Linked DNA regions of Homo sapiens: region 2 is linked to region 1. Evidence: promoter capture Hi-C in 16 types of primary human blood cells and fetal thymus (Javierre and others, 2016). All regions are on one chromosome and are shown on one strand. The core of a region is centred on a gene start or on the middle of the fragment in contact, and the rest is flanking DNA. Distances in the headings are between cores, read along the strand shown.

Region 1 (4,694 bases), core at 959-3,458:
GCTCTGTGTCAGGATTCTTGCCATATAGGACCTGCCTTTATAGTTTACATATCACTTTCAGCATACATATGGCCTTACTTTTTTTTTTTTGAGACGGAGTTTCACTCTTGTCGCCCAGGCTGGAGTGCAATGATGCGATCTCAGCTCACTGCAACCTCCGCCTCCTGGGTTCAAGTGATCCTCCTGCCTGAGCCTCCTGAGTAGCTGGGATTACAGGTGTGTGTCATCACGCCTGGCTAATTTTTGTATTTTTATTAGAGACGGAGTTTCGCCGTGTTGGCCAGGTTGATCTCGAACTCCTGACCTCAGGTGATCCATCTGCCTCAACCTCCCAAAGTGCTGGGATTACAGGCATCAGTCAGCGTGCCCGGCTGGCCTTAACTTTTTTATTCCAATTTTGGTGGAACTTTGCTCTCTATTTGGTCCGACCCAGGTACCTCACTGCCAGAGGTAGTAAGAACGGGTAGGACTTTGCAGACTGGGCATTATCCTGGCACCCACGTGGCAATGGTTTCCTGTCTCCTGTAGTGCTGTTCTCCTGTTGGAGCTTTCCCCACTTCTGAAGGACTGCCTGCAGTTCATGCATCGGGGCCTGTAATTACAGAGCAGAATATCCAGGGCTGTGAAGACCGGGCAGTCTCGAAATTAGTTTATGCATAATGGATAATAGGAGGCTGTTTTTAAGTGTAACTCATTTGGTGGGTTGGCAGATCATGACTTCCTTTTTGATATGTATTATTTATTTATTTTATAGCAAGATGAGGACAGAAGGCTGGGGAAGTCATTTGGCGCAGCTCTTCTAGACTATAGCTCAGACTTAGCAATTTACATTCAGTAATCTCTTGGTCATTTAGCCACAGATAATTTGTCATGGTTTGTTTTAGCTGTTGTGATATTGATATTTATTATGCAAATTGTATTTCCTACATCTTATTGTTCTGCATTCTATGAATACTTAAATTATTATAAACCTTTACACTTAATATGGCTCGTCCTTCAATTTGATGCTTGAGCAACAGAGGGTCAGAGCGCACACGATCTTCTAGAGGGGAAGAAAATAAGTAATTAAAAAGCAGACAAACAAGAGAGCCGGCTGCCTGGCTGAAAAGAAAGCAAAGAGAATTTCGGGGAGGGAGAGTGAGTCCGGAGATGCAAGTCGCTTTAGCAGGAGAGGCTCTCCCAGAGACAGGGGAAGCTCGGAGCACCTGTTGGTCCCCAGCTTCCTTAGGAAGGGCTGGGGGCGCAGAGGAGGAGTGAGAGGGTTTGAGCCCCGAAGGAGGAACACGGCAGACCCTGCCTTCACCACACTCCCTCTCCCCAACTCCCACCACCCCCGCTCTTCACCTGAAGCCTTGACTAATTTTTTCCGTTGTTGTGTAATCTTAAATATCTAATATTACAAATATTTCACACATATATTCAACACACACCTATATATTAAAACCAGGGAGGAGACCCTCGACAAGCGGAGGAGCCTGAGCATACCCTCCTCGATCTACCTTTCCCGAGATTCTGCCGCAAAAAGACCGACTGGAAAATCTCAGAACCCGACTCTACGGCTGCCTTCTCCAACTATCCCCGAGTCTACCGCTAGGCTGTTGAGCGGGCTCTCCCGCTCCGCCGGACGTGCAAAGCACGCATGCACTTCTCCCAGATTGTTTTGTCAATCCGGGGACCTGCCTTCTTACTCTCCACTCCCGCACAGCCCCCGTTCCCAAAGATCTATTCCTTCGGTGCAAGGTGAGTGACGGAAATTTGCAACGTCTGGTTCGCTAGGCCAGATGCACTCGGTGTGCGGGACAGAGGACCCTCTTAAGGGAGATTCTCCAGTCGTCGGTCTGATACAGCGATTGCTATAAACATTCCTAATAAAGGTGTACAAGAAGCTAGACCCGCCCCCTGGAGCCCGAGTCCTTGCACGCCAGGCGCCCGGGAGAACACTTTTTCCTTGATCCGGGGAAAGCAAAACCCGAATTTTAACATAAACATATTTGCATACGCCCCTCCCCTTGGCCCCGCCCCTAGGTGGCGCGGGCGCGCCGCCGAACGCCAGCGCCAGGGGGCGGGGTGGGGGAGGGAGCGAGGCCCTCCGAGAGCCGGGTTGGGCTCGCGGCGCTGTGATTGGTCTGCCCGGACTCCGCCTCCAGCGCATGTCATTAGCATCTCATTAGCTGTCCGCTCGGGCTCCGGAGGCAGCCAACGCCGCCAGTCTGAGGCAGGTGCCCGACATGGCGAGTGTAGTGCTGCCGAGCGGATCCCAGTGTGCGGCGGCAGCGGCGGCGGCGGCGCCTCCCGGGCTCCGGCTCCGGCTTCTGCTGTTGCTCTTCTCCGCCGCGGCACTGATCCCCACAGGTAGGTGTGGGCACCGACCGGTTGGCCCCTAAATCTCCGAAGGCACCCCAGTAGCCTTGGCCACAGAGGGGGGAAACGTTTCCATGACAACCTCCCCCCACTTCCTACATCCGAAGCGGAGGGAGTGTGGAGAGGAAACTCAGGGCTGAGAGGGAAGGGGCTGAGGGCATCTGTGAGCCCCTTCTCCCCTGCCCGGCTAAGTGTGAATGAGAGTCCCCAGGGATGGCTGCACCCACACCTTCTCTCCCCGGCTTGGCGCGGGGTGCAGAGTGGAGTGAGAATGGGGGGCCCGGGGGCTGTAAAGCATGGGGGAAGGGGATGGTTCAAAGACAACCTCAACCCTTCCGGACCCTTCTAAACTCGCCGTTCTCCCCGTAACTTGCAGGTCCTCCCACCTCCCAGGGCTGTCCATTCGCCCCCACCTCTCCAGAGGGCCCCCCCAGTTCTCCATCCCCGAAGCCTCCTGGTGGCTGACTCCCAGCCGCCCGCGGCGTGATTTCTCCCCGGTCCCCAGGACATCCCCAGACTTGTCTGATCTCCCCTGCCCCTTCCCCCAACGCGCTCTGCCTTTCTCCCCTGTCCCCAAACTGCACGCCTCTCGTGTTTCCCTCCGGCCGTTCGCAGCCCTCCGCCCCCTCGGCTCTGCTGCGGGTCTTTTTGGCCCGGCTCCAGGCGGGGAAAGTTCCCCGGCCCGGCCCCGCGGGGGGGGCGGCCGCTGTCGCCGCCTCTGCGGGAAGGCGCCGGGAGCCCGCAGCCCGCCCGCCCCACAGCGTCCTCTGCCACGAGTGGGGACACGGGATTTCCCGGCTGCCCGTTCTTTCGGCGGCCCGAGGGTGGCGGAGGGGGCGTCGCGGCCTCTGCGGCCAGGCGGGCACCCTGCGGGCCTCCGCGCGCTCCCTGCGTGAAGAGCAGTCTTGGGAATTTGCCCAGGGGCGGCTCTGCACGCCCGGTGCCTTCCCTGAAGACACCGAGCACTCGGCTGGAGCCCGATGTGTGGCTGCCCGTGTGCCGGGCGCGTTGGCGCGGTCGGGAAAGAAGAGGGCAGTGTTTGCTTTTGCTAACAAAAGGGAGCCGGAGCTCTTCCTCAGCGGAGAGGCCGGCTGTGCTGCACCCAGCCTCCCTTCCCGCCACCTCGCCGCGCTTGGCAGCCGCGCGGCGTCCTCTGGCCCCTGCTGCAGGCTCCAGGCGGGCGCCGGGACCGAGTGGCACGGGGCCGCGGGGTGCGAGCGGCGATGCAGGAGGGGATGCAGCAGGGCTCTGAGCCTGCAAAGCCCCTCCTTGCAGCTCCAGAGCTGCAGGACCCGGGAGCAACAAGTGGCGGAGGACGCCGAGAGCTCAGCCCCCACCTGCGGAGCCCCAGGCCCGGGCGGGCACAGCGTTGGGGCCACGGTGCTGCTTCAGGGGCGCCTCTCCGCTTGGGCTGTGCCTTTTGTTTACACGCTAGAGGACACACAGTTATGTAAACACCGCAGGAGACACGCTGTAGGAGACGGGGGATGTGTGGGGGTGCTAGCTTGAGATTTGGGGGACGCCGGGTTGGCTGCTTGCCCCCAAAATAGGCTTGCAAAGGAGCTCGGCTTGGGAAACCTATTGGGGGGCGTCTGGCAGCAGCGTCAATTCCAGCGCTGAGGGTTTTTTTCCTCCATGCCACTGTCTCCGGATGTTGTTTATGTGTTTTTCCTCTGTGAATTCTTAATTTATGAGTTACGAGATAATTGGGTTCAGCCGATGCCGGTGTGGTTACAACTTCATTTCAGGTGATGCCTCTGACTGGATGGGTTCAATAAAATGTTCCTGAAAGAGATCCCTCGTGCTGCTGCATTGTAAAAAGCGCCAGTGTCAGTTAAACGTGAGCGTGAGTAAAGGCTCGGTAACTGGCGCATAATAGAGGCAACAATAGACTTGTATTGGCTGCAAAAAAAAAAAAAAAAAAAAAAAAAAAAGCCGGGGGGCGGTGGAAAGCTGTGGTCGGGGATATTGCTTTTTGACTAAAAATGGGAGTCGTGCAATGACGCTTGGCAGCAGAAGTAGGATTAGATTATGCCTCCCCTGTCAAGACTGCTCATTGAAGGCACCGGGTAGTAGCAACGGTACTATATTTGTAACTATCTCGCGGTGAGAAGTTGCCTTCCCTGCGAGGGATATATGCTGACTTAGGAGCGGTCTGGAACTCAACCGTGCATGTCAAAGCTACATGAAAATTCTGTTGCCAGTTACCATGGAAGCAGCTTCTTGCTCTTGTGTACATCCCTGTTTGTATGCTGGTTATCAGATTGTGTTCAAATTAGAAAGTAATTGGGTATGATTTGTAGTGAGGAGATGAGATGACTTTCTTAATTTTT
Region 2 (4,694 bases), core at 728-3,227, 580 kb before region 1:
CGCATCACATAAATGAACTTCAACTTCCTGAATTTCATCATAGAAAGTCAGACAGAGAAAGAGGGAGAGAGCCTTTTATTTACCTATTGTCCTCTCTTCCACAGCTCAAAATCAAAGAGAAATAAAAGGAATTAATTTTTTGGCTTTTGAGCTTCTGAGAACCCAGCTCTTGTAGATTTTCAAGGAGAATTTTGGCAATACCTATTTTTACCTTGCATGTTTGATTTTAAAGCAGGCTTTCCTGCTTAAGATAAAACTCAACTGTGATAAGCTATTGAATTATTCTATAACCTAGACTCTTCATTTCAGAGTAGGCTTCCCCACTTTGGTCTGGATTAGTGAAGTTTGACTACAAGTGGACAGCAAATGAATTGCAAATTATATGTAAATGTGTATAAATTAGCACCAGTTATTAGAATAATTTGCATTTACAGCTCTGTAATTAGGCAGCAGCTTGGGAGAGAAGGGCAGTGGGCAGGGGACCCAGGAAGCTGGGAAGGCATCCCAGAAGTCCTGGGGTCCCCACCTCTATGTTAATGAGGCTCAGTTTTCCCTTCCTTAGGCCCCTTAGCACAAGACTTTGAGGATCTAAAACCTGTACCCTGGCTTTTGGATTTCTGGTTCTTGCTAAGATTCTTCATGGCTGCTGCTCAGGGGCTTTGGCCTCTCTGGCTCAGTGTAGCATAGTGACAGGTCATGGGATTTTGAGCATAGAGGTCTTAGATCTATTGCTTTCAGGGTAACTTTGGCCAAATTACTCTCTGATCCTTAGTTTGCTCATCTAAAAATGGGGTTTATAACAAACACTTACCCCCATACTATCAACCAGTACTATGGGGTTCACATGAGATTCTGTATGTGACCCTTATTAACCTTTACATGCATTTGATATAACAGCTGAGTTCATCTAACTAGCCCATGGCGGATCCAGGATTTAAAAGTAGGTTTGTCTGGCTTTAAATCACCTTTGTATCACCACGTCCCATGGCCTTAGCAGGAAGCATGCATGAAGAACAATTTATTCCCACACCATTCGCTCTCCTGGCCCTGCCTGGCCTCCTGCATCACTTGGGTGCAGGTATCTGTTGGCCAGGGATTGGCCCTTAATGCCTTTGCACCCTGTCCTTAAAATACTTCCTGGTAGAATGTGCTTTGGTGTGTGCCCAGCTCTTGGAGCCCATGTCTGTCTATAAGCTTATCTTAAGCATTTCTCTCTCTTTCCCTTTAGCCTGGAACAAGAGAAACAGCATAAAGCCCTCACCCACTTCTCTGTAGCCACCCTTAGATAACCCCCACCTTAGTTGAATGAGGGTAGCTGCAGAGGCACAGGGAGTTGGAAAGAATGTATGATGAAAACATGATCACCTATTTGCCTGTGGAATGAATCAGATAATATTTTTAAAGAAAATTTGCCACTTATTGTTATGAAAACACATGTCTGTGCTCTGAACCCAGCCTGGAGGATGCTCAGAGGAGGAAAGGTACTGAGGGCTAGGGGTCATCCCCAAGCAGATACTAGAGAAAGATCACAGGATCTAGGTTAATAATCAAGTACTGGTTCCTGCTCTGGGAACTTGTAAGCCTTCTGAGCCTTCTTGTACCCTTCACAGAGTGACTGTGAGGATGAAATGGGATTTTAGATGTAAAATGAATTTGCTGTCATTTCATTATTATCAAGAACACGCAGCACAGACCAGTCAGATCAGTTCCTGACCATCCCTCCATCCCTCAACACATATGCCATGTGCCAGTGGTGGAGAACTGCTGGTCATTCTAATCATCTTTAATCATGCTGCCATCTTCCTTCAATGGCTTTTCCTGCTTCATTTGCTTGGCCAGTGTCTACTGATTAATTAATTCATTGAATAGATGGATGTTTATTGAGCACCTACTATATGCGAACCACTATGATGGACACAGGTGACACAATGGTGAACCAAATAAAGATGGTTCCTGTCCTCATGAAGCCTATATTTTCTGAACCATTTAATACTCAGCTTAAATATGAAAGCCCTTTCTTGACATCTATTCTCCCTTAATAGTTTGAAGCACCCCTCCTTTTTGCCCTGCCAGTGTCTAAGGTTGTCTATGCTAGTGCCTTTAACATTGCACTAACTCTTGCACATTGTACTCCCTCTCTCCTCTCTTGCCCTCTCCCTCTTCACTTTGCCTTATCTCTTTCCTTTCTTCTGCTGTCTCCCTCCTGCTGGTAGCCATCTTCTTTGTCCTTCCTTGGAATTTATGAGGCCAATCCTTGAAATGAGAAGGTGACCACTTTCAAACAGATAAAAGAAAGCCCTTCTTTTCCAAGCAGATAATTAATTTGTGTCACTTGCTGGTCATGGAACATAATTGAGGCCAAGGGCTTAAGAAGGCCCTGAGAAGGAATTAGACATGTAGTCACACCAGGGGGAATGTATCACTCACTCTGCTTCCCCATCCCTGGAGGGTGAGGTTAGCGAGCCCTGCTCGAGCTGGGTGGCAAAGAGCTTCTCAGCCTATTAAGGGGCCTGGCCAGGCACAGTGTTCACTTACCACATAGTGAGCAGAGATAGAGCTTTCTGGCACCAGAGATGTGTAGTCAAAGATGCAGAATAAGACTGAAGCCCTGGATTCAAGTCCCGGGTCTGTCATTTTGCTAGCTAAATGATTCAGACACATTTCTTCTCCTCTCAAAGCCTCCAGTTCCTTGAAATCCAGGACTCCTGTGTGCTGCTCCTCCCTGGGCTGTGAGAGGCTCAGGAACTGTAGTAAGCTTGGGAGGATGAGAGAAGAGAAAAGGAAAGAGATAAGGCAAAGAAGGGAAGGAGAGGGCAAGAAAGGAGAGAGGGAGAAGGGTGTGCTAGAATTAGTGCAATGTTGACAGCTCAGCAAGCTGTAGACCTCAGGAAGGACCGAGTGCTCTGTGGATACTCATGGTGTCTCATCTTTGGGCGTAGTGAAAGGCTGGACACTGGAGAAGAGAGAATGTGTCCCAGAAGCTGAAAGTCTGACACTGGTCTTGGCTAAATGAAGCACGTTGCAGGCATAGGGTAACCTGAGGTGAGATCCTGGGAGCAGAAGTGATCTCAGCATCCCCTAGTTCCGTGCCTACATCCAGCACTAACCAGCTATGAGGTCTTGGCAAGTGCTTTTTCCTTTCTTGACTCTCAGTTTCTTCATCTGCAAAATAGGCATTGGGGGTTGGAGCAAGGAAAATTGTACCCAATCATGATTTTGTAAAGCATATTCCTTGGAACATCAGTGAAAAAATGTAAGGAAAAACAAATTCCAGGGGAAAAAAGAATTCAAGGAAAAGTTTGAGAAATGCTGCATAATATATATAGATAATCAGAGTGCAGATTAGCATATTGCATCTCTTGAAAATCCTATAATAGGGAGAACTGTTTTTGTTTAACCTGGTTTGGTCCAAATTTTGCAGAATCCTTTATTAACATCCTGTGGATATTGACACTACCAGGAACATGCCTTAGGAAACAATCTTTTGGGTTGTTATCCATCAAACATTTTGTGCCTCCACATAGCTCACAGGGCAATTCCATACAGACTGGGGAGGAAAGAGAGAGTTCAACCTCACACCAAGAATTGTCCAGTGGTTAGTGCTGTGCTGTTGTAGAATGTCCTGCTGAATCTGTCTGTGAGCTCCATTCTCCTGATTATGTTTGACTATGTTAAGTGACATCCAGCCAGCTTTCCCTGAACAGGCAACACCAGACAGAGCGAGGGGTGGTGGCAGGGGACCCAGCAGATAGGGATCCCCGAGTGGGTAATTGGGAGTGCATTGCAGCTGCAGGCATGTTGCTCATATTGCAAACTAGACCCCCAAGGCATTACGTGAGCTGAGTCTTGGGGAACTGGTAGCAGGTGTGTTAACCTGATATTCTACCTGTAGAATGCCAGCAAGGAGAGTGAAACTGTGCAATGCTACTCAGCATTTTCAAGACAAATGCATTGAGCACTTAAACTGTGCCCAGTACCACATTGATTATCGGTGGCAAAGAGGTGACTCAGACACAATCCCTGCCCATGAGGTACTCTCCAGCTGGGGGAGGGAGGAAACAGGAAGCAGCATGTAAATAGGTAATAGCACCTATTCTCAAGCACTGGTGTGCAGTAATAGCCTGGGAAGTTTGTTAGAAATTCAGGCACTTGGCCTCTGCCCCAGATCTTGAGGATCAGAATCTGTAGGGTGGAACCCAGGCATCTCTATATTATGATATGTGACTAGGTTGGGGAATTACTGAGTTACCTTGACAGGGTTAACGGGGAAAGCATGCACTTTGGAGTCAGAATGTCAGTGAGGTGACCCTGGACAAGTCCCCCTACCTCTCCAAGCCTGAGTTTCTTTATTGAAGATGCTTATGCATATGGAGGAGGATTACATTGGGACACCGTGTGTGAGGCACCTAGCACAGTGTCTGGCACCCCACAGTCAGGAAGTGGTGGCTATTCTTGGTACATTTATTGAAGTACAGTAGAAACAGAGAAAACAGAAAAATCACCCACTCAAGTCCACTTCCACAGGCCCTATCCCAAAAGGCAGGGAGGAGCCAGGCTGGGTTCTAGACATTTCTGGTACCAGCTGGAGCAGGGCACGCTGAGTGCCGGCATTGCTATAAAGAGATACCATTTAATTGCAGAAGGTGACATTGGGCCCAACACTTCAGCGCTTTTTACAAGGGGGAGTTTGAGAG

Evidence for each region. Contacts are between HindIII fragments. The CHiCAGO score rates a contact against its expected background, and 5 or more counts as called.
Region 2: a fragment that was not itself captured here is called in contact with the fragment with the promoter of CADM1 in region 1 in 1 of 17 cell types (M0 macrophages); the score reaches 5.2 in M0 macrophages.

Annotation. Positions count from the first base shown.
Region 1 is chr11:115,501,929-115,506,622 of GRCh38, reverse strand. It overlaps CADM1 (cell adhesion molecule 1), which reads left to right and starts at 2,208. Exons shown (of 12, transcript NM_001301043.2): 1 at 2,208-2,352. The coding sequence starts at 2,229. RefSeq lists a silencer at 2,023-2,182. The HindIII fragment of the contact is 6,395 bases long and covers 1-4,694 here.
Region 2 is chr11:116,085,990-116,090,683 of GRCh38, reverse strand. No RefSeq gene overlaps it. Among named protein-coding and RNA genes, the nearest start is that of LINC02703, 170 kb to the right of the region's middle. The HindIII fragment of the contact is 1,561 bases long and covers 1,197-2,757 here.